Linked DNA regions of Homo sapiens: regions 2, 3 and 4 are each linked to region 1. The links are contacts of gene promoters, found by promoter capture Hi-C in blood cells and fetal thymus (Javierre and others, 2016). All regions are on one chromosome and are shown on one strand. Each heading gives the region's core, a stretch centred on a gene start or on the middle of the fragment in contact. The rest is flanking DNA. Distances are from core to core; before and after follow the strand shown. Region 1 holds the start of ZC2HC1A (zinc finger C2HC-type containing 1A). Region 2 overlaps PEX2 (peroxisomal biogenesis factor 2). Region 3 overlaps TPD52-MRPS28 (TPD52-MRPS28 readthrough). Region 4 holds the start of LINC01607 (long intergenic non-protein coding RNA 1607).

Region 1 (7,126 bases), core at 3,131-5,630:
GTTGTTATTTGCCCAAATTTATTTTATCAGAAATCCTTTGTACTCCCAAAACCAATGTTCTCCACCAATGTCCTGATGAGCACATTTTTTGAAACACTAACTTACATTTTCTGCTTAGTCCTTCTCTGCCTCTCATTCACTCACTGTCTGAACTGCAGGGAGACATTATCAGGCCAAGCACTATATTGAAATACATCCATTCCGCCGAGTGCGTTGGCTCACACCTGTAATCCCAGCACTTTGGGACGTCGAGGCAGGCAGACCACCTGAGGTCAGGAGTTCGAGATCAGCCTGACCAACATGCAGAAACCCCATCTCTACTAAAAATACAAAATTAACTAGGCTTGGTGGCACATGCCTGTAATCCCAGCTACTCCGGAGGCTGAGGGAGGAGAATCGCTTGAACCCAGAAGGCGGAGGTTGTGGTGAGCCCAGATCATGCCACTGCACTCCAGCCTGGGCAACAAAAGCGAAACTCCGTATCAAAAAAAAAAAAAGAAAGAAAGAAAGAAAGAAAGAAATACATTCATTCCTTGATTCAATAAGTATTTGTTGAGCACCTAGCATGAGGCAGAAACTGTTCTAGGAGGTAGGAGTATAAGGATGATAAAAAACAAATACTCTGATCTTATAGAGCTTTCACTGATCTAACAGGGAAAAAATGAATAAAAACTAATATATAAAATGTTACATGGTGATAACCACAATGAAGGTAGAACAAAGTAAGGGGAGAAGAGATGGTCATAATGCTGTCTTGGAGAAGTATGGATAATCAGGGAAAGTTTGTTTAATAAGGACACAATAATGACATTAAAAAGGAAGGTAACGGATTACTATTTACTAATTGTCAAATCTGAAGCTCTCTTTTGAATCCCCATCCTACTGGGCCTTTCTACAGTCTGAGCCACTGCTGACAAATCTCTTTCACCTTTAAAGTCCTTTCTCTCTTGGCTTCAATGTTTCCTTCGCTCCTCCCAAGCATGCTATGTTTTACCTATACTGGACCTGCTAACATGCTTTTTGTGATTTTCGCCATCTAACAAACACACACTGAGAGGGCCTCCTATGCACTAGGTACTTAGCTAAATGTTTTACATATATTACATTATTTAATACTTAATATAATTTAGGTAGTTACATATTTAATAGCTCCATTTTTTTCATAGCAGGGAAAATAAGGGTTCAGATTAAGTAAACTGCCCAAATCATAGAGCTAAAAAGAAACAAAGCAAGGATTCAAACACAGTCCTCTCCAATATACTGTCTATTAAAATATCTGGCATCCAACTCACTACCAAAAAGCAGTAAATGCTAGATAAATTAATAAAGATAAAGAATTATACAGTAAACTAGTATACATTTATACTACGAAAAAATAAAACAAAACAGAAATTTTGATGAGACACGACTATCTTTAAACCAAGGGCTACACTGAAGAGCAATCAGTCTTCTAATCAAGTTTTAGAGGGCAGTACTAAGATCTAATAATTTCAACAATCCACAAGAGGAACGGACAGTCTGATCTCTGCCACAATTTTTATAACCATTTATCAGGGATATGAAGGGAATGACAATACTGTATATAAGGATAAAATCTGCTTAGATTTTACCATCTCTCCATTTTACAAATAAAAAAAGCTTATAAGAGATTGGAACTCTCTCAAGTCTAGAACTACTTCTATTATCCTTAGATAGATTTTGTGGGGCACAAATTTTATTAGATGAAAAGGAATTAAAAGGTTTTGCTATAACTATCTACAGAATGTAGAAGTGCTCAGATATTGATTCTACAAAAACAGATAACTTATATTTCATTTCAAAGTATAGTGTTTGAGCCTAATACCTCATCTATTGACTATTCAAGAAGCATAAAGACCCTGAAGACCAAAAGTAAAACAAATGGTATATGATTACATGCAAATAACGTAAGTTATAAGAAAGAGTAAGATTATCTTTAATAGAAATTTTCAAGAGTCCATATATTTTCTTGTTTTATAGCCAAGATTAATGTCTGGTAACTGGTTTCAACTAGAAACATATGTCTAATGCCAGAGTACAATATTTACGCAATTACTCTGACACATTAAGCAAACTTTTGAATATTTCTTACTGGATACTGCAATATAATATTTATTAAACACCTTCAAAGTACTAGACTTTAACTTCCAATAGAGGTAAGAAACTACCTAATCTATCACTGTATCAATGTTTCTAGAATGAAAGAATGGATGAATTAATGAACGGTAACCTTAAGACTCAGAGTTTGATATTTGCAAGGTGTGATCTCTTAGGGGAGGGAGAGGGGAGAAGGAGGAAGGAGAGAAAGGCACCATCCTAACTTCAACAGAAAATTCTCAAGAGCTTTTATTAGATTGAACTGCTTGAAATTACCAGAATTCAACTGTTTTGCCCTACATAATTTAGGGCAACTTCACATATTTCAACTCAGTTTATCACAATTAAACACATTATAGTTAATGATAGCATCTTATTTTGTAAAAAAAAAAAATCTAAAAGTAAAGGGCAAGCACTATTAACATCATAAGCTGGGCCCTATAACATCATAAGCTGGACCCATAAAATATGCCTATAAATACAGAATCCTACCTTTGTCCACCTATGCAACTGAGTGTCATAATAGGTTTCCATTATATTTTAAAAACATTCGTAGTAAGGTTTCAATAGTAATATCTTAGCACTGTTAAAATGTAAGGTCCACTAAAATGTAGGTTCGATGAGAGTAAAGCTTTATCATTTTTATTCTTTGCTGCAACCTAGAACCTAAAAAGATGCCCATAATAGACATTTATTTAACAACAAATATTTATTGAGTACCTACTTTGTGTCAGACATTGTTTTAGGTGCCTAGGATACATAAGTGAAAAATCAGATGATGATCTTTGTCTTAATAACAAATGTTGAATAAAATAATAAAAATCTGCAAACTGTTCAAAACACTTTATAGATAATATGTAATAAAACCTTATCATATTATATATGATAATCTCATGAGAATTCCATAACCCATGCTTTAATCCCACCAAGATACAAAAGTATCTTGAAAGTAAAATATACTGTACTATCATTACAATTCCTTATTTCATGGAAACTTGAATTATCTTCCAAAAACACATAAGCAAAAAACAAGACCTTCATTAGGCCATAGCATACTGCAGCTGTCCACAAACGGAAAATTATCAGAATCATTTATCAGAGCAAAAGCACGAAATAAACTTCTACTCATGTTATTACATCTGCTTTTTGGTGAATAGGTGACTGAAAAAGTTACCGGCTACCACTTTGCACTTCATCACACAATGTAGAATATTTTACTCCCTGGCATGCAACAATACACAAGACTCAAAAGCTTCTGCTCATTCTTAATTCCAACTGAATCCGTGTAAACTAGGAGACGGGGGAAAGGAGCTAAATCAAGACAATAGGATCTTTCAATTCTGAAGGTTTGTTCTTCATCATAACAAATTAAAAAATCTTGAAACTGTTGTTGCCAATGCTAGTTATTGTGGTTTTTGTCCTTCCTTTGTTTTTAGGTGAATGCTTTCATTACACAGGATAAAATGGGTAAACAGAATAGAGAAAAAGTGAAAGAACTGGGAACAAAGCAAAATCTGGAGTCATGGTTACAGTACAAAGATAAACCCAAAGATAAGGAACCAATACAGGCTCTTCCTCACACAGCGGCCGTGAATAAGTCATCAAATCCTCCGGGTAATCTATTGTACCGGCTCTAAAGCTGGCCAGTGACACTTCCTTAGGAGATGCTCTGACATCCCTCCGACAGAAGATGCTGTCGAAATGTAAAAAGCCGGTTACCTAGGGAAATCGGCCAAGGAATGTCAGGAGCTCGAGGCTGGAGACACACCCCGGGGCTGCAGCACAAAGTGGCCTGTTGGTGTTAAGGCCGTGGACAATAATGGAGAGAGTCCAGTACAAGGAAAACAAAATCTGGCCAGAGACTGGGATCACTAAAAGGGCACTCAGGAGTCAAGCAAGATCAGAAAATGGTAGGAAGAGACGTGCAGGCGTCTTGCCAGGGGCAGGATCTGGCTCCGGGCGGGAAAGCCCAGTTGAAGACCGTCTGAGGCGGGGCAGCCTGGTAGCGTTAGCTCCACCGCATCGGGGACTGTCCGGTTCCCTTCGGCCCCAGCCTCCGGAGGCGCGGCGGGACGCGGCGAGGTCCGCCGCACCGAACCAGCCCTCGCCTTCCTGCTACTGGTGTCCAGGGTCCCCAGCTGTTTCGGGCCCGCTCTAGCCGTCCTGCCCTCATCCCTTCATCGCCTCACCTTCCAGTCCCTCCATCGCGCCACCTCCTCGAGCTCAGCGAGACTCCTTCAGCAGCGCCCGCCACCGCCCAGCTCTGGCTGTAGCAACCCAGCCGCACCTCCCACCCGCTAACATTCCGAGCTCCCATTGGTTCCGCAACTGCGGGGGCGGGGATCCGTGGGGGCGGGGCCGCGGCGGAGGCGAGGTTCCTGCGGTCTCCTCCTGGCTGCCACCCCTGTCCGTCTCTCCGGGTTACTCTCCAGGGAGCCGGGAGCCGCTTCAGGTTGCAATCTGCGATGCAACGGCGCCTTTGTTTGACTCCAGCCTTGTTTTGCCTCATACCTTATCCTCCTATTTAGAGTACCTCAGCACCTCATGGGCTCCGCTTCACCAGTTCCTCAATCAGTCAATGCCTCTGACTTCTAGCCGCCATCCCTCCCAGTGGATACTTTAAGCAGGCAAGCAAACCAAACAAACGCCCAGCACGCTTGCATGCAGCAATCTCCGTTTTCCGGTCTTTGGTCGCATGACTTGACCTCAGCGTATCCCCTACACTTGATCTTCACACACAGCTTCATAGGTTAAGACACTTTTTTTCCAGAGAAATCATACTTTCTATCTGCGATTGTGGAACTGCGATTGCTCTAAGCCCTTGAAAACAGTTTCCTCACCATGAAAGCTTGGGCCAAAAATTAGAAGTGAAACCCAGCCCTCCCTCTGTCTTCTACTCTTGGCCTACCTTGGCCCTATACTTTATCATCCATAAACCAAAACAGTCGCCTGGCCTGACAATGTTTGATCGGGGAAGTTTGAGTTGGGGAATTAACCTACAACCTGACAGAATGAGGCCCGCCCGTCTCTAACAGAGTTCAAAACCTCCTGAAGATGAAAGTAACTTCAAAACTAACTCAGACCATTTTAACGGTTTTGCTTACAATTACCAGAACTACATTTCTTTGAAAATTTGATTTAGCAATCGTAAACAAGCTGTACTGTTTGCTGACTATAGCGTATCTACTGGCAAGTTACCAGTATTAATGTGTTGTCCATAACAAACCTCGGATTAATGTTATTGTTAATCTGTTTAATTGAAGAGTTTAACTTCATATCTAACTTCATCTACTATGAAATCAGTTACCTTCAGGAAGCAGGATTCCTCCTACTCTCCACTCACATGAAGGTATGTTTAAACAAGCAAACACTTGAGGGGGCATCATCTCTTACTGAGAAGGTGCTCCAAGTGCATTTGAATGTGGTAGAGTCCATCTGTTGTGTGGAGCCATGTAAAGACCACTTCAACCATGCCTCAATGACTCCCTCCGCCCTTCCCTGGTTCCCCTGGCTCTTCTGCTTCTCTGAGATCCTGGGCCTCCTTGGCCAACCCATAGCCTTGCAGGCAATAAGCTACTCTAGACTGGGTGCTGCGGAAAGGTCCTTTTTCTTCCTTAGTGCTACTAAGGCAAAGGTAGAATTTTTGGTTGGGAGGGAAGGCCTTTTAAAAGAGCATTAAGGAGAAAAAAAAGCACACAGAAGAAAATACAAAAATAAGGAAGCCATTATTTTACAAATTACAAGTTCTTTCACTGAAGGCAAGACGAATATTGAGTTGGCTGATACCTTATTCGACATAAAATCTACAGTAACATTAAAAATAATAAAAATAGCATTAAAGAATAAATCATGTGAGGCATGTTTTAGGCCATTTTCATATATTCACAAATCTTCAAAAGAAATCTACAAAGTAGATACTACAATCTTCATTTATCAGAATTAAAATGTTCATTTTCTAGATGTCTCAGAGCAATTAATATTTTGTCAATATTTGTATTATTAGTGGATGGTAGAGCTTGGCTACACTCTTGTCTGTTAAATTCTAAAGCCTATGGTGATTTGATTGGGCTCCTCACTCCCTTTCCTTGCCTTGCCTTTTATTATAGCTGCCTCAAGTGTAAACCCAAGCGTTCAGACATGTTGTTTAACATATATTTGAGTAGGCATTTCTATTGTGAATCTTAATTCTCTAAAACATGATTGCTAGTCTTCCCTACAGGTATCTTCATAACTTTTATGCTTTTGGTCTCTTCATAACTTTTACGCTACAGCTACCCTGGCTCCTGCAGCTTTTCCCTGATTCTGACCCCTGAGTAAAGAGGACTTCTTCCTATCTGCCTTCAATAAGTTCTTTCCTCTGCCGCCTACATACCTAGCCTGAGAGTCTTGTCTTGGCACTGTATCATGACATTACTTCCTCTCCAGTCTAATCCATTTTTCGGCATGCATTCATTCAACAAATGTTTGTTGAGTACCTTCTATGCTTCAAGTCCATTTTATCACTAGCCAGTTACTCAAATGAATGAAACTCAGCTTCTTCTCATGTTTTTAAGCACTTACCTGTACATAATTTTTCTACCTGCCATGTGATCTTGTTAACTGAAAATAACATTTATAGATCAATAAGAATTCGAGATCTTCTGACCTCCTTATCATACAAAAAGGAAAACAAACTTTCAGAGATGTTTCTGACTTGGTCAAGATCACAAAACTAGTACTTAACTGAAATAGATATTGTATCTGTGTTTTATTACATCATACCTTGATTCTTTCCACTTTGCATTATATTGCTTTCAACCACCATTCCCTTAAGCAGATCCACATCTATTCTGCACATCCCAAAAAGCTGAGCAAGCTGCATATAGCTTCTTGTTTCAAAGCTCCAGTCTCTTAAATCCCACACGAAGTTCAAGTCCCCTTTTAGAGAAAGCCATTGGTTCTCATTCATATCATTTGCAGAGCACAACTAAATGAGATTCTGAGTCTCGGTGAGAACTCAGTTTATCACCTC
Region 2 (7,126 bases), core at 3,056-5,555, 1.7 Mb after region 1:
AGCCTCCCGAGTAGCTGGCACTGCAGGTGCATGCCACCATGCCCGGGTAATTTTTGTATTTTTAGTAGAGATGGGGTTCACTGTGTTAGCCAGGATGGTCTCTATCTCCTGATCTGGTGATCCACCTGCGTCAGCCTCCCAAAGTGCTGAGATTACAGACGTGAGCCACTGTGCTTGGCCGCCTCAGTTGTAATGTTATGCTTTTCTCTGAAGCCAATTTTTAAGAAGTTCAGTCCTCAGCTGTCTGACCCCTCCACAGTTGGCTTTATATTCAGAAAGTAAAAATTACTTAAGGCAGCTTGGAAGTGAGGCCTGGGAACTACTGGGGGCAACTAGTATGAACAGCACTATTTACAGGTCTCTTTCTCTTGCCTTTGATTCAGAGCTGTCATTCTCAGTAAATATTGATAGTTTTATTGAAACAAAAGGGGTCTTTAGCATGGGAATAGTAACAGCAGTGCATAATCAAGATAATTCTGTATCCTTCACTCTTTTTCTCTGCCTTTTTTTACTTAAAAGTAAATTCAGACTCTTAAAATGGTATAGAATTATTAGCTTGAACATTGAATTATCTCGTCTTAACTAGAATGTTTTTTAAAAAACAGTTTTTAAATGTTTTTAAATAAACATCTTGCTAGTATGATGGAAATACACTGCCAGTTCATTTTTCTCTTCACCTTTCATTGAACAAGTACTCAGGTGCCAGGTACTGATGTAGCCATTAGAGGCACAACAGTATATTAAGCAGGAAAAATCAAGTTACCTTCATGGAGTTTACATTCTGTGATTGAATGAACTGTAAGTTTAATTTAGGTTCAATTTAGTGTAAGATACTGAAGAAGTTTTGTAGTTTGAGTTAAGAGTATTTTACATCTTAAGAATTTGCCTTCTTTTGCCTTCTGTAATTTTAAAACATTATTGTAGAAAACACCAACAATTCAGGAAAAAATATAAAATCAACTTTCCCACAATTTTTTGAGAGAGATCATCACTATATTTTACTATATTTGTAGATTTGTTGCACGTACATTTCTTATTTACAAAATTATTATAATGCATAAAAAATAGCATTTTTTCCTATGTATAAATATTCTTCAAAACTATTTTAGGGCTGAGCACAATGGCTCATGCCTGTAATCCCAGGCTCCCTACTTAGGGAGGCTGAGCCCAGGAGTTTGAGTTCGTTTCTAAAAAAATAAAAATATATACAAACGTCTTTGTTTTTTGTTTGTTTGTTTGTTTTTGGTGAGAAAGGGCCTCACCCAGTCACCCAGGTTGGAGTGCAGTGGTGTGATCATGGCTAACCGCAGCCTTTCCCTCCCAGGGCTCAAGCGATCCTCCCATCTGAGCCTCCCAAGTTGCTGGGACCACAGGCCCATACCACCATGCCTGGCTAATTTTTGTAGAGATGAGGTCTCACTTTGTTGCCCAGGCTGGTCTTGAACTTCTGGGCTCAAGCAGTCCTCCTACCCTGGCCTCCCAAAGTTGTGGGATTACAGGCATGAGCCACTGCACCCAGCCATAATATATTTTTAAAATGCTATGTATATGCCATCATATTCCTATTCCTATTATTATTTAACCACCATCATAGAGCATTTAGGTTCTTTTCACTTTCTGTTGTGAATAATGCAATGTTGAATCTGAGTTCATTAAGTGAAGAGTCCAGCTGCACACTGCAGGCCCAGTCTGGATGTAGGTGCTCAGATGGTTCTCTTTGAGACAGGCTTTATCCTTTGGCTCTCATTTTTTTGATGAGTGTACATGGCATGAGGGACACAGATTCCGCTAGAATTCAAATCCCACTTGTGTATAACCTAGGGCAATGTGCCACATCTCTGCACATCTGTTCATTGTAAGGATTACATGTTTAGTGTATATAAAGCTCTTAAAACAATGCCTGACACATAGTAAATAGAATATAATAGTAGTGCTTTCCTTTGCTGTTGTCAGTATTACTCTGAGTCGGTTTCATTCTCACACAGAATGATGGCCGCTAGAAGCTCAAGGCTTATAATCTGCTAGCTTTCTGATCCCACTGGCATGAGATACTCTTGCCTAATAGTTACAGCTAAAGTCCAGGAGCTCACTGTTACTGGTCTGCCTTGGATTATGTGCACATTCCTGAACCAGCCACTATAGCTAGGGGATGGAAAATACTGTTCCTGGTTACTTAAATGTAGGTGATGCTCCTCCCATATACCACATGAACCTAAAGGAGTCCTGGAGGAGGCCGTTCACCACAGGAAACTGAGGTGTTCTTAGAAGGGTGGATGCTGGCAGATCTCTACTAGTTAGAGTCTACATTTGCCTTACTCATTTCAAAAGTCCACATTGCAGTCTCATTTTACCAGTGATCTAGCTTGATAAGGACATTCATAAGTAACTGGATGATTCTTTAACATTGCAGATTTGAAAGGATTAAATAAAGTCAACAAAATTGTTATATCAACAATTGTATTATTTTGATAGAGTAACTTCTAAGTAGTTATCCATATTCTCAAAATCTTAAGAAAACAGTACTTTACATATATGCCAGCTGATAGACTTGTCAGTATTGGGGTAGGGGGTGGTTTTTTTCCACAGACCCTAATGGCACTTAGTAAAAATAGGTTTTTATTATTTTTCATTTTTATTTAACATCTGCCACCCCTACTAGGTGATAACCCCCATGAGTTCAGAGACCATGACTATTTTGTTCATCACTAGATAGCCAGAGCCTTTTAGTTCTAGTGTAGCAATAGAAACATTTTATTAGCTGAATAAACCTAAGGTCGCAGATAGGGTTCTGCAGAAGCTGGCGTTGAAAGGGGTTTGAAGTACAAGAGATTTTTATGTATAACTCTCAGGGATCCATGCCTGTGAAGGGAAAGAGCAAAGCAGGAATAGGCAGAAGAAATGAGAGTACTCTAAAGCAGGCCTGAAAAAAGTTGGCCAGCCCAGAGGGGAGCTCTGAGCTAGTGTCATCTGTCAGAATGTCCTAAATTAGGCCAAAGTAAATAGGCCTTTTTACCTACACTTCTGTCAGTCACTGGGTGTGGGCAGCTCTGGGAAGGTTGTGATCTCAAGCATGGCAGCTCTGTAGCGGAAGCAGATCCTGTGGGAGCCAACAGCTGGAGGCAGTCCACTGACCACATTCCACAGCTGGGCACCATGTACATCCTTGCAGGAGGAGCCAGGTGGCATATCTTGGTGTGTACCACATCTAATACTGTCCATTTTTTCCTTTCTGGTTTCCTTTTTTTTTGTTTTTCTTGCATATAGTACACTGGACAAACAACACACTAATGCCAGGTAGTGTTCGTTTATAAACAATAGATTTATGACTGACACACCCAAGTGTCTCTTGAGTATCTCTGCCCCACTACAAATACCAGACTTCTTGGCCAAGTTGCTATGACAGCCCCCAGGAACTCCATTCAGTCTCTGCCTCTCTGGGCACTGCCAGAAGAGTTGCTATACCTCTGGTGCGACTGTTTCTACTCCCCAGCAGGCTCCAGGCTCAAGCTTTAGGAAAACTGGATGGGATTTAGCTACATGATATGTTTCCATGTTAGCCTCAAGTATGTAACCATCAGTTACAAGTGTTCTTCCTTAGGAAAATAAAAACATTTACACTTAACATTTTTCTTTTCTCTCCCTTGCACTTGCTCTCAAATCAAGTTTGCTACTTTTGTATTTAAAGTACCCAAGTGACTTCAGTGATCATATCTAAATTACTCAGATATCAATCAGAGCTCACACAAGGCATGTCCTACTACTTTGCTCTCAGCTCCCCTGCTTTCAGTATTTAGTGACTGGATTTGGGACAAGTTCATTTAACTTAAGATTCAATTTGTTCACCTATGAAATGGACATTCAATAATGTCTACCTGTTAGAATTCTAATGGGAATTAAATAAAGCATTCTCTCAAAAATTATCTATTGAGCCCCTGCAGACATTCCTTTTCCGTACTCAGGGAATGCATTCATGAATACCACAAAACACCTGCTCTCATGGAGTTTACATTCTTAGAGGGGTGATAAATAATAAAGATAATTTCAAATGTTAGTAGTACTCTGAAGAAAATAAAACAGGCTTTGAAATGGGGAGTGATAGGGGTTGCTGTATTGAATTGTGTGCTTGTGGAAGGCCTCTCTGAGGTGATACTTAAAAAGAGATATGAAGGAAACGGAGAAAGCCAAGCAGAAAAGGGGTGCTAGGGTAAGGAAATGGCTGCGCCCAGTCTCTGAGATGAGTCTTACCTTTTTGAGGAACAGCAAGAAATCCCAGTGAACCAGAGAAAGAGGTGGGAAATGAGGTAGGCGAGGTGAGGTCATGCAAGCCAGGGGGAAAATACCTGGATTTATTCCAGCTCTGAGGAGGCCAGAGGAGGATTTTAAGCAGAGATGTGACATGATCAGATTTACATTTTTAAGGGATCACTCTGGATAATTTGTGCAGAGGTATGAGTCAAAGCAAGAAAACCAGGTCAAAGGCTATTGCTAACAGTCAACATGAGCCATGATTGTTATTTCCATTAACAGTATCACTGAAATGGTCTGCAATCTGAAATAAAGCCTGAAGAAACCTAAATAGATTTTAATAGATTCTATCACCAAAGCTATACTCATGGGACAGTTTCTCAAGTCTCCAGTAAGAGGCTGCTTTATTTTGAATAGAATTCTAATCAACTTTCACCAACAGATTAAAAATAACAGACGAAAGAGAAGAGGAAAACTGGTAAAAGCAAGCATGGTTTACCATAACAAGCAATAATGAACAACTTGGTATCAAAGAAGAAAAACTTAAAAACAGAGTTTAATCTGGTATCATTTAGAGTGGGACACACAGGCTCTGAGGACTAACTGTGAATAGTAATTGTGGTTTTAAAAAATGACCTTGTATCATCAATGAAATCTACCCTATATTCTGTTTGATTTGGTTAAGAAGGCAGAAATTAGTATTGCTCTGTTCGAGAAGCCTTCAAAATGGGATGGCACTTAGAGGCAAAAATTTGGTTTATTTGAAACATTCAGTTTTAGCAAAAAACATTCAGTAAGCGTTGTTACTGTTTAAGACAAGATCTTTTTCAGCAAGAAAACAGTTCTAAACAAGCTTTTTAGCCAAACCAATTGGCCATATTGTATATACAACTGATGATCCATGGTCCTCTGCAGCTAGAACTACTATGTAGTCTACATTTATACTCATCACCACAAATAAGTTAGCAAACATTTTTCTTTGGTAAAAAAAAAAATTTCTGTCTGGGCACGGTGGCTCACACCTGTAATCCCAGCACTTTGGGAGGCCAAGGCAGGTGGATCACTTCAGGCCAGGAGTTGAAGACCAACGTGGCCAACATAGCAAAACCCCATCTCTACAAAAAAAAAAAAAAAAAAAAAAAAAAGCCAGGTTTGGTGATGCATGCCTGTACTCCCAGCTACTTGGGAGGCTGAGGCAGGAGAATCACGTAAACACAGGAGGCAGAAGCTGCAGTGAGCTGAGATCAAGCCACTACACTCTGTTGCCAGCCTGGGCAACAGAGCGAGACTCTGTCTTAAAAAAAAAAAAAAAAATTCAACTTTTATGTTTAGGGGGTACCGTGTGCAGATTTGTTACCTGCATATATTACATGATGCTGAGGTTGAGCATAGTGGATCCTGTCACCCAGGTAACAGGTGACAGGGTATTGAGTATAGTACCCAATAGTTTTTTTTCCAACTCATACCCTCTTTGTCTCTCCCTACCTAGTAGTCCCCAGTGTCTATTATTGCCATCTTTATGAATACTGGTTGTTTAGCTCCCACTTATAAGTGAGAACATGTGGTATTTGGTTTTTTGTTCCTGCACTAACTCACTTAGGATAACAGCCTACAGCTGCATCCATGTTGCAAATAACATGATTTTGTTCCTTTTTATGGCTGCATTGTGTTCCATGGTGTATATGTGCCACATTTTCTTTAGCCAGTCCACTGTTGCTGGGTACCTAAGTTGATTCCATGTCTCTGCTATTGTGAATAGTGCTGCGATGAACATGGGAGTGCATGTGTCTTTTTGGTAGAACGACTTATTTTCGTTTGCATATATACCCACTAATGAGTTTGCATAGTCAAATGGGAGTTCAGTTTTAAGTTCTTTGAGAAATCTCCAAACTGCTTTCCACAGGGTCTGAAATAATGTACATTTCCATCAACAATGTATGATAAGCATTCCCATTTCTCCACAGCCTTGCCAGCACCTGTTGTTTTTTGACTTTTTAGTAATAGCCATTCAGACTGGTGTGAGATGGTATCTCGTTGTGGTTTTAATTTGCGTTTCTCTGATTAGTGATTTGGAAAATTTTTTCATATGTTTGTTGGCTGCTTGTGTAGTTTCTTTTGAGAAGTATCTGTTTATATATTTTGCCCATTTTTAATAGTTTTTTTTTACATATTGATTTATTTAAGTTCCTTATAGATTCTGGATATTAGACCTTTGTTGGATGCATAGTTTACAAATATCTTCTCCCATTCTGTAGGTTTTCTGTGTACTCTGTTAATAGTTTCTTTTGCTGTACAGAAGCTCTTCGGTTTAATTAGGTCCCACTTGTCAATTTTTGTTTTTGTTGCAATTGCTTTTGAGGACTTAGTCATAAATTCTTGCCCAAAGCTGATGTCCAGAATGGTGTTTCCTAGGTTTTCTTATAGGATTCTTAAAATGAGATCTTACATTTAAATCTTTAATCCATATTGACTTAATTTTTGTGTATGGTGAAATGTAGGGGTTCAGTTTCATTTTTCTACACATGGCTAGACAGCTTTCTCAGCACCATTTATTGAATAGGAAGTCCTTTCCCCATTGTTTATTGTTGCCAACTTTGTCAAAGAATGGGTGTAGGTGTGTGACTTTATTTCTCTGCTGTCTGTTCCATAACATTGGTCTTTGTGTCTGTTTTTGTAGCAGTACCATGCTCTTTTGGTTACCATCACCTTATAATATAGTTCGACGTCAAGTAATATGATGCCTCCAACTTTGTTCATTTTGCTCAGAATTGCTTTGGCTATTTGGGCTCTTTTTTTGTTGTTGTTCCCTATGAATTTTAGAATACCTTTTTGTAGTTATATTTAAAAAATGACATTGGTAGCTCAATAGGAATAGTACTGA
Region 3 (7,126 bases), core at 2,558-5,057, 1.4 Mb before region 1:
ATGACTCATCTTCGTTCTCGTTTCTCAGTACCATTTCAGACTACTGTTCTATCAGAAATACTTTAAAAAGGCTCCTTGATAAAAATCTTTTCAATTCTTTCCATTTTTCGTCAGCATCTGGCTCACAGCTTTTCTCTTTTCTTCATACTTACCATTTTCATTGACCAGCATTTACATTTGTAAACCAAAAATAAAATTCTAAAGCCCCCTCAACCATCTGAATGGACCCCTCCTGTCAGCCAAGGGCGTTCCAAAGTTAACCTGAAAAACTAGTGCAGGCCGTGATGGGAAGGGGGAGCCAGACGTGCCTCATTATACCTCCCTCCTTTCAGAATTAGTGATAGAAATGACTCTTTAAGTCTAGTAAGAAACATTTACAATCTGTTTTCTCTGAAGCCTGCTACCTGGACGCTTCATCTGCATGATAAAACCATACTCTCCACAATGCCTTATGGTCACGCAGACATTCCTTTCTATTGATAATAACCCTTTCAACCAATTGCCAATCAGAAAATCTTTAAATCTACCTATGACCTGGAAGCCACCCTCGCAACCTGCTTCTAGTTCTCCTGCCTTTCTGGACTGAACCAGTGTAACCAATGTACATCTTACACGTATTGATTGATGTCTCATGTCTCCCTAAATTGTATAAAACCAAGCTGTACCCTGACTTCCTTGGGCACGTGTCTCAGGACCTCCTTAGGCTGTGTCATGGGCGTGTCCTTAACCTTGGCAAAATAAACTTTCCAAATTGATTTAGACCTGTCTCATACTCTTGGTTTACACATTAATGACTACCAATACTTTGGCCACATAGTTTTTTGTATATTAACCTTATATTGTGTAATGTTGCTGTAATTACTTATTCCAGGAGGTTTTTTTCTTGTTGATTCTTTTTGATTTTCTACATAGGTCATCATGCCATCCATGATCATACACAGTTTTATTTCTTCCTTCCCAATCTGTATACTTTTATTTTTTCTTTTTGTCTTATTGCATTAGCTAGGACTTCTAGTACAATGTTGAAAAGCAGTGATGAGAGGGGACATCCTTGCCTTCTTCCTGTGCTTAGTAGGAAAAGTTTCAAGTTACTTACCATTACATATGTAGGTTTTTTGTAGATATTCTTTAGGAAGTTGAAGCTTTCTCTAGTTTTCTGAGAGTTACTATTATGAATGGGTATTGGGTTTTGTCAAATGCTTTTCCATTTGACGAAATGAAATACGACCATGTGATTTTTCTTCTTTAGCCAATTGATGTGATGGATTACATTTTTTTTCTATTTTTAATTTTTGTGGGTACATAGTAGGTGTATATGCTTAGGGGGCACACGAGATACTTTGATACAGGCATATAACATGTAATAATCACATCATAGTAAATAGAGTATCCATTCCTTCAAGCATTTACTCTTTGTGTTAACAATCAAATTAAACTCTTTTAGTTATTTTTAAATATACAGTTAAATAATTATTGCTTATCACCCTGTTGTGCTCTCAAACACTAGGTCTTACTCATTCTTTCTAACTACTCTTTGTACCCATTAACCATCCCCACCCCCTTATATACTATAAGTATACTATATCACATATAGGGGAGTGGGGATGGTTAATAGGTACAAACCCCCAATACCCTTCCCAGCGTCTGGGTAACCATCCTTCTACTCTGTCTCCATGAGTTCAATTGTTTAAATTTTTAACTCCCACAGATAATAACATGTAAAGTTTGTCTTTCTGTGCCTGGCTTATTTCACGTAACGTAATGACCTCTGGTTCTATCCATGTTGTTGCAAGTGACAGGATCTCATTCTTTTTTATGACTGAATAGTAGTACTGCATTGTGTATATGTACCACATTTTCTTTATCCATTCATCTGTTGATGGGCACTTAGGTTGCTTTCAAATTTTGGCTATTGTGAACAGAGCTACAGCAAACATGGGAAATGTCTCTTCAGTATACTGATTTCCTTTCTTTGGGGTATAAAACCAGCAGTGGGATTGCTGGATCATATGGTGGCTCTATTTTTAGTTTTGGTTATTTGTTTTTTGTGGAACTTCAAACTGTTTTTCAGAGTGGTTGTACTAATTTATGTTCCCGCTAACAGTATATGATGGTTCCCTTTTCTCCACATCCTCATCAGCATGTATTACTGCTGGTCTTTTGGATAAAAGCCATTTTAACTGGGGTGAGATGATATCTCATTGTAGGTTTGATTTGCATTTCTCTGATGATAATGATGTTGAGCACTTTTTCATAAGCCTGTTTGCCATTTGTATGTCTTCTTTCGAGAAAGGTCCATTCAGATTATTTGCCTTTTTTTTTTTTTTTTTTTTTTGAGACAGAGTATTGCTCTGTCTCCCAGGCTGGATTGCAGTGGCACGATCTCGGCTCACTGCGAGCTCTGCCTCCTTCCGGGTTCATGCCATTCTCCCGCCTCAGCCTCCCCAGTAGCTGGGACTACAGGCGCCTGCCACCATGCCCTGCTAGTTTTGTTTTTGTATTGTTAGTAGAGATGGGGTTTCACCATGTTAACCAGGATAGTCTTGATATCCTGACCTTGTGATCCGCCCGCCTCGGCCTCCCAAAGTGCAGGGATTATAGGCGTGAGATTATTTGCCTATTTTAAAGTTGGATTATTAGAATTTTTTTCCTATAGAGTTGTTTGAACTCCTTATATATCCTGGTTATTAATGCTTTGTCTACATTTTGATTTTTGAATGTTAAACCTGTCGTAAGTCTCAGTTGTGGTATATAATTTTTATATGTTGTTGGATTTGATTTGCTAATATTCTGTTGAGGATTTTTGCATCTACATGCATGAGAAATATTGGTCTGTAGTTTTCTTTTCTTGTAATGTCTTTGTGTGGTTTTGATATTAAGATATTACTGTCCTCATAGGATAAGTTCCACTCCTATCTTCTGAAAGAGATTGTAGAGAATTGGTTTGATTTCTTCTTTAAATGTTTGGTAGAACTCACCAGTGAACCCATATGGACCTGGGGCTTTCTGTTTTGGAAGTATATTAATTACTGATTTAATGTCTTTAATAGACATAGGCCTATTCAGATTATCTGTTCTTCTTACTTGAATTTTGGCAGACTTTGTCTTTCAAGGAATTAATCCATTTAATTTAGGTTATCAAATCTGTGGGTATAGAGTTGTTTATAGTATTTCTTTAATGTTCATGGGATATGTAGTGATGTCCTCTCTTTCATTTCTATTATTAGTAATTTGTGTCCTCTCTTTTTGTTTTTCTTAGTCTGGCTAGAAGCTTACCTCAAATAACCAACTTTTGCTTTCGTTGATTCTATTGATTTCCTGTTTTCAGTTTCATTGCTTTCTGTGCTAATTTTTATTTTAGATAAGTTGTGTTTTCATTTTCATTTAGTTCAAAGTATTTTTAAATTTCTCTTGAGATTTGTTTGACTCATGTTATTTAGACGTGTATTTGTTTACTCTAAGAATTTTGGGATTTTTGAGCTATCTTTCTATTCCTGATTTCTAGTTAAATTCTAGTGTGGTCTGAAAGCAGACATTGCATGATTTCTATTCCTTTAAATTTGTTAAGGTGTGTTTTATGGTCCAGAATGTGGTCTGTTTTGGTGACTGTTTCATGTGGCATGAGAAGAATATATATTCTGCTGTTGCTGGATGAAATTGTCTACAGATGTCCATCATATCCAGTTGATTTATGATGTTGTTGAGTTCAGCTATATCCTGAGTGATTTTCTCCCTGCTGGATCTGTCCTTTTCTGATAGAGGGACATTAAAGTCTCCAACTGTAATGATTCATCTATTTTTCCTTGCAGTTTTGTCAGTTTTTGCCTCATGGTTTTTGACTATTTTTAGGCATGTACACATTAAGGATTATTCCGACTTCTTCAGATAATTAACCCTTTTATTATTAGCAAATTGTTTAACATGAACAAACTGTTAATTGTTAGATCAATTACTAATTAAAAACTTAAAAGTTTTAATTTTACCTTCACATATTCCTTCTCTGTGTTCTGCCTTTCTTTATGTAATGTAGATCTGAGTTTTTGACTTTTATAATTTTCTTCTTTCTAAAGAATTTCTTTAAACATTTCTTGCAAGGCAGGTCTACTTGCAACAAATTCCCTCAATTTTTATTTGTCTGAGAAAGTCTTTAATTCTCCTTCATTTTTGAAGGATAACTTGTCAGGGTACAGAATTCTAGGTTAGTATTTTTTTTTTTTGTTTCCTCTTAACACTTTAGATATCTCACTCCACTGTTTTCTTGATTGCATGATTTATGAGGAGAAGCTGGATATAATTTTTATCTTTTCTCCTCTGTAGGAAAGCTGTTTTCCCCCCAAGCTTCTTTTAGAATTTTTTCTTCATCTTTGATTTTTCTGTAGTTTGAAAATGATACTATATGCCTAGATGTAGTGTTTTTGGTGTTTATTCTGGTTGATGTCCTCTGAGCTTCCTGGATCTGTGGTTTGGTGTCTGATATTAATTTGAAGGAAAGTCTTAGTCATTATTGTTTCAAATATTTCTGCTGTATTTGTCTTTCTTCTCCTTCTAGAATTCCCATTAGTTTACACCTTTTGTAGTTGTCCCAAAGTTCTTGAATATTCTGTTCAATTTTTCCCTCAATCTTTTTTCTCTTTGCTTTTCAGTTTTGGCAGTTTTTATTGAGGTATCTTCAGAGTCACAGTTTTTTTTTTTCCTCAGCTGTGTCATCTACCTGTAAGCCCATCAAAGGCATTCTTCATTTCTGTTACAGGGCTTTCGATCTCTAGCATTTCTTTTTGATTCTTATTTAAAATTTCCATCTTTCTGCGTACATTGCTTATCTGTTCTTACATCTTATTTCTTCCGTTAGAGCCCTTAGTGTCTTAATCATAGTTGTATTAGATGCCTGGACTGATAATTTCAGTATCCTTGCTGTGTCTGAATCTGGTTCTGATCCTTGCTCTGTCTCTTCAAACTGTGTTTTTTGCTTTTTTGTCTATCTTGTAATTTCTTTTTGATAGCTGGGCATGATGTATTGGGTAAAAGGAATGGCTGTCAATCGGCCTTTAGTAATGTGGTGATAGGGTGTGTGGGGAGGGAAAGTGTTCTATAGTCTTATGAGTGGGTCTCAGTCTTCTAGTGAGCCTGTGCCTCTGGACTATGAACTGCACATTTGCTTCTCAGTGTTTCCCTCTCTTTTGGTAGGACAGAATGACTAGTGCCAGCTAGAATTGGTTATTTCCCTTCCTCCAGGACACTTAGGCTCTGACAAGTGTTTAGGCTTTGGTTGAAGAGTTTCCTTGAGGACACATGTCATATGCATGATAGTTTTATATATGTGCTTAATGTATATTAAAAAGACAACACCTGTTTGATAAATGAATTGTTGAATAAGAGAGAGTGCTCTGATGTATTTCAAAATAGTTCTATTCCCCACAGAACTTGCCGTCTGAAGTACAAGGGGATTTTTCTCCTATATTCACTGTAAGGACCAGGTTGAGCTCCTGGAGTTAAAACTCACAAAAGTGTGAGAGTCCCCAATAACTGAGTCTCTCTGGAGTTTTTAACTTTCAGACTTGTCCCACTGAGCATCCACCAATTCACCAGTTACAGCTCGGGTTTCCCTACCTCGGCACTGGTTCCCACAGAGGTTTCTTCTTGGAGGCTTCTTTTCAGTAGTTCTCTGCATTCACTTGTCTCTCCACATTTGAGAACAGCAGTTTTCCCTGTGACCCCCACCTCTCAGATGCATCTAAGAAGAGTTGTTGATTTTTCAGTCATGACAATCAAACACATCTCCAGACATTGCCAAATGTCCCCTGGAGTGGGGGTGGCAGGGGGGAAATCATCTTGGTTGACAAATACTAGATTAGTCAATAAAACTTGATGGTGGTGACTGAGTCTATAAGAAATTAATTTTTAAAGAAGCTAAAGTTTTTGACAGGGTCTGTTTACCTTCAGACACTATTTGAGTGCTTTACATATGGCCACACATTTATTCCTTACAACAATCTTGTAAAATAGATAGATATAATTACAAACACCATTTTATAAGATGAGTAAACAGCAGCACAGAGATTCTAAGTGCACAGACCTGTCCCCAGAGCTGGTAAGCGGTAGAGCCAAGGTTCAAGCCATGTGGCCAGACTTCCCAGCCTTCCTTTGGGAGCCCTCGTATTTGAATCATCACAAATTGTTCATATGCTTGCTGCACAGCTGTCATTTGGAGTCTTTTCTTTGCTGCTTCTATAGGTTATAGAAACAGTATAAGTTACTGCTGCATAACAAACCATCCCAAACTTGGCTCTCCTCTGTACAATTTGTTTGATTTTTTTAAGGGAAGAGAAAAAATATATTTATTTTTGACAGGATAATACATGCCTATTACCAGATATTATGCACTTGAGGAATTTTGTGCTTGACAGAATATTGACTGCCCTGCCTCTGTTGTTTTTAGCTATTCTCCTTGTTTTCAGCTTGTCTTCTCACTGCAGCCTGGCATGACTGAGCTCCATACCTTTATGGAATACTTCAGGATAGAATAGCTTTCTTTTTTTCACAGCTTCTTCTTCTTGAATTTCACTCTGCTTCATTAATTATCACTCTTCCACATGCTTTCTGTCCACTAGAAAGTATGTTTGTATACTTTTGTTCTCCATCTGTTCTCTTCAATATTGAGAGTTTATAATTTTTACAATTTTTTAATTTATTATTTTACCATCATTTAATGGGATTTCAGGAGGGAGAGAGATAAATGTAAGTACCTTATCACCTTGAGCCACCAATACGTTTATTTCAATAAAAGAACTCTGTTGCGAGCGTAACATTTATTGGTTAGTGTTAAAGAAACAAAAGTTATTATAGCACGGTTAATAGAAGTGGGTCATTTTTGGAGATGCATGTTGAAATTTTTTTCTTGCTAACCAGTATGAAGTAGTTAAAGTATATATACCATTTCATTACTTTTATTGTTATTGTTTTTTTTCTTTTTTCTTTTCTTTTTTTTTTTTTTTTTTTGAGATGGAGTCTTGCTCTTTTTGCCCAGGCTGGAGTGCAATGGCGCAGTCTCAGCTCACCGTAACCTCCACCTCCTGGGTTCAAGTGATTCTCCTGCCTCAGCCTCCTGAGTAGCTAGGATTACAGGCAT
Region 4 (7,126 bases), core at 2,674-5,173, 1.1 Mb before region 1:
CTCATCTTATCTTTTGAAAAACAAAATGAACGCTGAGCTATTATTTTATGGATGAGGAAACTGAGGTTCAGAGGGTAAAGGTGTGATGATAAGCTCAAGGTCACACAGCTAGTAAAGAGTGACTTGAACCCAGGCAGGTGATTTGAAATCCCTGCTTTTTCCACTGTACCATACCACTGCCTGTTAGGGTTCCAATTAAACAATTCCTTCAAGGCAAACACCAAGGCATCTCACATCTGACCTCAATTAGGAAAGTTGATAGTGGAAGTGCACTTTTGCATGGCATGACATGCCACAAAGCAATCTGGTGTTTGAGATGCTGCATCTAGAGAAAGCAGCAAGCATGAGGAACAAAGGAAAACTGTCACTTAGTCAAAATTCCTTGTGTTCTCATGAAGGAGCCATCTCTGAACTCCATGAGTACACTCCTTACTTATACATGTATTATAGCGCTACATGCTCAGGAGATGTTTCTTAGATTCAAAAAGCAAAACTTTCACTAATAATGAATAGCAGATGCTTATATTACTCAAAATAATCTAGTGCTCTTAACAAGAAGCACTGTTTCCTTCTCCTGATGTTAAAAGGATATTACTTTCTAGAGATTCTGTTAATATATCCAATTACTACATAATTATTTATACTGCCTTTCAACCTCATTAGACGTGTAACAGAGTATCAGAAGAAAACACAAAAGTAACTTAGTGCTCAGAGTTTATATACTCATGGGCAGAGAAGGTATATTAAAAGCCAATAATAGCAGATGCTGTTTATTGGGTGCTAACTAGTGGCCAAGTATTGTTGTAAAGTGCTTCATATAATTGATCATATTTAATTTGTGACATTGGAAAATAACTATTACTAATATCACCATTTTTTTTTTTGAGACGGACGGAGTCTCACTCTGTCGCCCAGGCTGGAGTGCAGTGGCGCGATCTTGGCTCACTGCAACCTCTGCCTCCCAGGTTCAAGCGACTCCCCTGCCTCAGCCTCCCACGTAGCTGGGATTACAGGTGTGCGCCACCACGCCCGGCTAATTTTTGTATTTTTAGTAGATAAAAATATCTACGAAATTTCACCATATTGGTCAGGCTGGTCCTGAACTGCTGACATCGTGATCCAACCACCTCGGCCTCTCAAAGTACTGGGATTACAGGCGCGAGCCACTGCGCCCAGCCAATATCACCATTTTACAGATAAGATTATTGAGGCTTAAATATCATGTAGCTAAGAAGAACTTGTGAGCAGCTTGATAGAGATTGTGGCTTTTCAGCCTGATTGCTCTAGGCCTGGCTCAGTGCCCAGCACAGACTAGGGGCTTTATACAAATTTGTCAAGCAAGTACATAAGCAAGCAAGCCCTAAAGGTTTCAGCCAGCCACTGGCTAGCTTTACCTAAAACTTGTTTTGACAAAGACCTTTGCCTCAGAATGGTACAGCAATTAGACTAAGAGGTTAGAGAGAGCGGCAGCCCCTTCTTTCTCAGAGCTGCAGGTGTAGCCTCTGGTCCTCCTGAGCACTATGTCCCATGCCTGTTCAATTGAGATCACCTGCACCCACCAGCAAACTGACAGAGACAGGGCCTCATGAAGGGTATCCAAGTAGGGACCTCCACAGTGGCCAAAGCTCTAATGAATGAATAATTGACGACTGGGGCTTCCTCAAGGCCAGTCTCACACCCAGCTACTGGTTGCATCCCTTCCAACAAGCTGGCCACCCTAAGCCTCGTTCATAGAGAAATGCTGCAGCTGGAGTTTGAGGATGAGCTGTTCCTCCCTGGAGATTCTACCACTTTTCCTCTGGGGAGGCCCTCACCTGGGCCTGGCCTTTCGAGTGAATTCCTAAATCTGGAGTGTCTCTCTCTTCCAGGACATCTGGAGTATCTCTTCTGCAAGGGAACGCAGATAAAAGCAGCCTGCGGAACGGTAAGCTAAGTAACTGAACCCAGACTCTACAAACCAGGCAAGAAAATAGGCCTTTGAGCGAAATAAAAAAGGGTGATTCTTCAGGAGAGACGAATTATAAAAGGCAACACTTGCCCACTTCCCCACCCCCAAATGGTAAAAGGTCCTTTTCCTGAGGGGCCAGGCCTGGGCAGTCCCATTTAAGTTGCAGAAGGGGTCAATTTGCAGGACGTACCTTTCATTCAGGGTAGCAAAGATGTTTAAAGTCGTTCTTCACTCAAAGCCTCCAGGGGTAAATCCCTTCTACACAGCAGATGGGAGAAAATTGGGCCTGGTGCCCTCAGTGTAACTCTCTCCTCTGATCCCACCACTCAAGGAAGAGGTCTCCGCCCCTTCCTTCCCGGTTATTACTGAACCACCTAGTTCACCTCTTCTTGATCTTAAGTCCCTTCCAAACTCAGAACAGGCCTTCCCAGACCTCATAAAGAATCCTCACCCCCTCGTTTTTCCTTACCAACAAGTGCTTCCAAGCACTGGAGCATCCATAACTACTTTACTGTGTATTCTCTGTCTTCTCCCTAGGATGTGAGTTCTAGGAGTGCAAGATGGATGACTTTTGGGTCACCTTTGTGTTTTCAGGCCCTAGCACAGCACATGGCACATAGAAGAATACGTATTTATTGGAAGCATTGAAAAATCAGTCAAACTTAAGAAGCAAGACAACCTCATTTGTAATTTTTTTAGAGACAGAGTCTCATTCTGTTACCCAGGCTGGAGTGCTGTGCAATGATCATAGCTCATTGTAGCGTTGACCTCCTGGGCTCAAGCCTCGGCCCCCAGAGTAGCTAGGACACAGGCCACCATGCCCGGTTCATTTTTAAATTTTTTCTAGAGATGGGGATCTTGCCGTGTTGCCCAGTCTGGTCTGGCACTCCTGGCCTCACGCAAACCTCCCACCTCAGCTTTCTACGAAGCTAGGACTACAGGTGCATGCCATGCCTGGCTAATTTTTAATTTTCTTTTTTAAGAAATGGGGATCTTGCTATGTTGCCCAGGCTGATCTGGAGCTCCTGGACTCAAGCAATCCTCCTGCCTCAGCCTCTCAAAGTGTTAGGATTACAGGTGTGAGCCACTGCGCCTGGCCGTAGAGAACCTCCTTTTTGACATAAAAGTAATCATGAACATGTGAGCAATATTTCATTTGGATGCCAATGTAGAGTTAAGCATCCCTAACCCCACCCGGTCTCGTCTCACTCAACATCTGCAGCTTGTCCACGCCTCTCCACAGCAGCAGAAATGAGCCAAAGCAGGAAAGGCTGACTCATTGTAGGTGCCAGAGGCTGGGAAAATCTATAGAGCCAGAGGGGAAGTAGACACGTTGGTTCTGGGGAAGGGTGGCCTGTCACTTTGGGGAAAGAAATGGAAGGTCAGAGGGACTTCTGGAAGGCAGAGGGGAGCAGGTGGGATGGTTTCCTATGCCTGGACCATCAGTTTCTGGGAGGGAAGAGGCAGGAAGTAGTGATGGATGCCCTGGACTGAAGACTGGGAGGGCCAGGAAGGAGCCTTAAAATTTGCACTTCCAGAGAGAAAGTCGGCTGGTGGGATTGACCTCGGACTGACAACTAACAGGCAGCATGCGGTGGAGTTTCAGGAAGCCAGAGGTCTGGGGTGCCAGCAGCAACAAACCCAGGCTGGCTGATGGAAGGGCCCAGCCTAGACAGGGAAGCAGAGGGGCTGCATGGAAAGGCTCAGGGCTGGAGGTGATGTGAAGTGGAATAAGCTTCAGTGGGAGCCAGGAGGTTGTATTTCCCGTTGGGGGCGGTGGTGGAGGGATGGGGGTGCCCAGAGAGGAACTATGGATTAGGCCCAGGCCGGCCACTCAGAGTGCTTGGCATCCAGGATGTGTTAAGATGGCATTGAGGCCGAGCGCGGTGGCTTAGGCCTGTAATCCCAGTACTTTGGGAGGCCAAGGCAGGCGGATCACCTTTGGTCAGGAGTTTGAGACAAGCCTGGCCAACATGGTGAAACCTCGTTTCTACTAAAAATACCAAAAACAATTAGCTGAGCATGGTGGCGCGCGTCTGTAATCCCAGCTTCTGGGGAGGCCGAGGCAGGAGAATTGCTTCAACCCGGGAGGCGGAGGTTGCAGTGAGCCGAGATCGCGCCACTGCACTCCAGCCTGGGCGACAGAGTGAGACACCATCTCAAAAAAAAAATAGCATTGAGATCAATAAGGAAGTCTAGAAACCAGGAAGCTTTTTGCAAAGAGAAAACGCCTTTTGTTATTCTCACCGATGGATATTAAGCTTTCCCTCACAGACAGGACTACAAGCTTCAGAGTGGATCTGAGATGAATGCGAATTGCTGTGTACCTTTGTAAGGGACAGAAGACCGGATTTTCAAATTTAAAACAACCATTCTGTTTCTGGAATCAGAAATCAGTTTCGAGATTTACAACTGTATTTTTTAAAAAATCTGTCTTCTTAGTGGACTCGGGGGGGACTTCACGTGGCACCCAGTACACGCCACGCCAAGCCACCGAAGCCAGAGGTGTGTGTCTGGGGCCAGAGACGTGCATTCCCTCAGCAAGGCCGGCCTCAGACGCAAACGCCAGCACCGCCACCCTGTCGCCCGCTGAGAGGATCTGGCCGCCGGGGGGAGGGGGCGGGGGGGGGGGCAGCGGGGGAACAACAAAAAAATCCCAGCATAATGATTATTCCCAGGGACCGTTGGGTTTTTTTTTCCCCAAGGCGGCCGAAAAAACAAGTGCTCCCCTTCCCCGGAAATGAGATGCACAGGGGTATTCATTCCATTCCGCGGCTGGGAAGCCCCTGCGGAAACGAGTCTGGCTGCATGTGCGGCCTCGGTCCCAGAAATCAAAAAGAGCGTCCCCTGAGCCCACAGCTTGCTCCTCCATGTGACCGGCCCCTGGGCTGGTGGCCACTGTGGACGCGCCCGGCGCCCCCTCTCCCGGCTCCCTGCGGGTTCCGCGGAGCCGCCGGCGCGCAGCCCGGCCAGGTGCACCCGGCACGGCCCCACTAACAGCGCGCGCCTCCAGCCGCCGGGCACTGGCGGCCACGCGGGCGAGATTTACGGTGGCGCTAGGCGGCGGCTTCCGAGGCCGGCCGGCGCCCAGGCTCCGATTACAGGTTCACACTGGGGGCCCGGCCGGCGGCCGCCCAGCCCCCGCCGGCGCGCCCTCGCGCGGCCCGGCTCCCCGCCTGCCCATTCTTCTCCATTCATGCGGACGCCCAGCGCCGCCGCCGCCGCCGCCAGCGCGGCCGCCGCCGTCGCCGTCGCCGGCCGCCCGGATTGGCTGGCGGCCGCGGCGCCGGCACTTTCCCACGGCCCGCGGCGCGTGCGGCTCACCGGAGGCGCTGCAGGCTCGGCCCTGGCGCGCGGCCAGGCCAATCGGGGCGCGCGGGGCGGGGAGGAGCCGCGGCCGCCGGCGGGCTTGTGTCCCGGCCCGGCCTCCCGCGCCTCCCCGCCGCCCGCGCCTCCTCCTTCCCCTGAGTGCAGGCTGGACAGAGCCCCCGCGGAGCCGACGCACCGCCGCCGGGCAGGGGCGGGCGCGGAGGGCGGGGGCGCGGTCCGCTAGAGCCCTCGGCCTCGCTCCCGCCCCTCCCCGGAGCGGCTGCCAATCAGCGGCGCGAGAAACCGGATTGGCCGGGGGGCGGCTGTTGCCCTGGAGTTGCCGCCCCGCCTCTCCGCCCCCTCGCCCGCCTTCCCCACTCCCCCGCCCTCCCCAGGGCCCTGGGAAGGGGCTCAGCGTGGGAAAGGATGGTTGAGTTTTAACCAGAGGCAAAGCGTGAGCGGGATCAGTGTGTGCGGAACGCAAGCAGCCGAGAGCGGAGAGGCGCCGCTGTAGTTAACTCCTCCCTGCCCGCCGCGCCGACCCTCCCCAGGAACCCCCAGGGAGCCAGCATGAAGCGAGCTCACCCCGAGTACAGCTCCTCGGACAGCGAGCTGGACGAGACCATCGAGGTGGAGAAGGAGAGTGCGGACGAGAATGGGTGAGCTGGCGGCGGCGGAGCGGAGCCGAGCCAGAGCGGGAGGCGAGCGCAGGCCTGCCGCGGTGACAGCGGGCTAGGACCCTTGGCGCGCCGGTGCCCTGCGCTGACCTCCGCGCGTCGCAGGCTGGCGGCAGCCTGCGGCCAGGGAACCCCTAGGTGCCTTCCAGCCCAAGTGGCAAAAAAAGTCTGAGTGCGGGGAGGGTGTGGGGGCGACCTCTCAGATCACCTCTCCTCGTTTAACGGCGATTTCAGTTTTTGTTTGTTCTTTTTCTCTTTTCAGAAACTTGAGTTCGGCTCTAGGTTCCATGTCCCCAACTACATCTTCCCAGATTTTGGCCAGAAAAAGACGGAGAGGAGTGAGTCTCTTTACACTCTCCTTTTATTTTTGTTATTGATTAACGGAAATAACCACCTTTTTTTTTGTCTTTGAAATTTACAGTCGTAATGGTAATGCCTTCCTTTGTTTTGCTTGCCTTCTGCAGATAATTGAGAAGCGCCGACGAGACCGGATCAATAACAGTTTGTCTGAGCTGAGAAGGCTGGTACCCAGTGCTTTTGAGAAGCAGGTAATGGAGCAAGTAGGTAAAGCTCTCAGCATAGCTATCTGCACCTTCTGAATCTTCCCCTCATTAATCTCATCCGCCTTGGAAAATAGCTGTGTTGCTTGTGCCTAGATGAATTCGTACACAGATACCAGCGTATTTTGTGAAGACAACTGATTTTGCTTTAGTCCATGCTTTACGATTTACAAAGCATGTATCTTTGTATATATGTTTGCATATTTTAAATTGTTCCCCAAAGGAACTTGTGCCAAATCAATCTTTTGCCATTCTCATCTTTAGGGATCTGCTAAGCTAGAAAAAGCCGAGATCCTGCAGATGACCGTGGATCACCTGAAAATGCTGCATACGGCAGGAGGGAAAGGTACATCTCCTAGACCTAGTGGGGGCTCTGAATGGTTGGCAAAGAGTGAGCAGCGGCTGAAGGCCAGGATTGGTGCAGTAGCTGCCTGATTTTTCTTTGGGGGTGGGGAGAGAACGGTGTGTGGTGTGTGCAGTTCCCTGTCAGTACATTTTCGAATGCACATAGAATCTTCTCCAGTGAATTCACCACCCCAGCTCTCTGCGGATTGAGCTAGTGCATCTTTTGGAAAAATACCTATTATTTGTGAGGTCTTCAAAAGTTGTGACAGCCCTGATTCAGATCAGGT

Evidence for each region. Contacts are between HindIII fragments. The CHiCAGO score rates a contact against its expected background, and 5 or more counts as called.
Region 2: a fragment that was not itself captured here is called in contact with the fragment with the promoter of ZC2HC1A in region 1 in 1 of 17 cell types (non-activated CD4 T cells); the score reaches 5.6 in non-activated CD4 T cells.
Region 3: a contact is called between a fragment that was not itself captured here and the fragment with the promoter of ZC2HC1A in region 1, in 1 of 17 cell types (total B cells). The highest score is 9.8, in total B cells.
Region 4: a fragment that was not itself captured here is called in contact with the fragment with the promoter of ZC2HC1A in region 1 in 1 of 17 cell types (monocytes); the score reaches 5.8 in monocytes.

What each region holds. Positions count from the first base shown.
Region 1 is chr8:78,663,343-78,670,468 of GRCh38, reverse strand. It overlaps ZC2HC1A (zinc finger C2HC-type containing 1A), which reads right to left and starts at 4,380. Exons shown (of 9, transcript NM_016010.3): 1 at 4,305-4,380. The coding sequence starts at 4,320. It overlaps LOC105375911 (a long non-coding RNA gene), which reads left to right and starts at 4,490. Exons shown (of 4, transcript XR_007060972.1): 1 at 4,490-5,464. RefSeq lists enhancers at 4,227-4,276, 4,241-4,748, 4,749-5,257 and a silencer at 4,347-4,566. The HindIII fragment of the contact is 1,596 bases long and covers 3,370-4,965 here.
Region 2 is chr8:76,975,584-76,982,709 of GRCh38, reverse strand. PEX2 (peroxisomal biogenesis factor 2) reads left to right here. Exons shown (of 4, transcript NM_000318.3): 4 at 1-2,452. Among named protein-coding and RNA genes, the nearest start is that of MIR3149, 12 kb to the right of the region's middle. The HindIII fragment of the contact is 1,591 bases long and covers 3,510-5,100 here.
Region 3 is chr8:80,013,505-80,020,630 of GRCh38, reverse strand. All of the region lies in intron 5 of TPD52-MRPS28 (TPD52-MRPS28 readthrough), which reads left to right. All of the region lies in intron 1 of MRPS28 (mitochondrial ribosomal protein S28), which reads left to right. Among named protein-coding and RNA genes, the nearest start is that of MRPS28, 13 kb to the left of the region's middle. RefSeq lists a silencer at 3,583-3,877. The HindIII fragment of the contact is 1,067 bases long and covers 3,274-4,340 here.
Region 4 is chr8:79,766,365-79,773,490 of GRCh38, reverse strand. It overlaps LINC01607 (long intergenic non-protein coding RNA 1607), which reads right to left and starts at 5,349. Exons shown (of 4, transcript NR_125410.1): 1 at 5,273-5,349. It overlaps LOC101927040 (a long non-coding RNA gene), which reads left to right. Exons shown (of 6, transcript NR_110954.1): 5 at 1,869-1,924; 6 at 2,486-4,119. It overlaps HEY1 (hes related family bHLH transcription factor with YRPW motif 1), which reads left to right and starts at 5,724. Exons shown (of 5, transcript NM_012258.4): 1 at 5,724-5,916; 2 at 6,197-6,272; 3 at 6,399-6,482; 4 at 6,759-6,840. The coding sequence starts at 5,828. RefSeq lists silencers at 4,552-4,721, 4,822-5,181, 5,222-5,701 and an enhancer at 6,152-6,201. The HindIII fragment of the contact is 475 bases long and covers 3,686-4,160 here.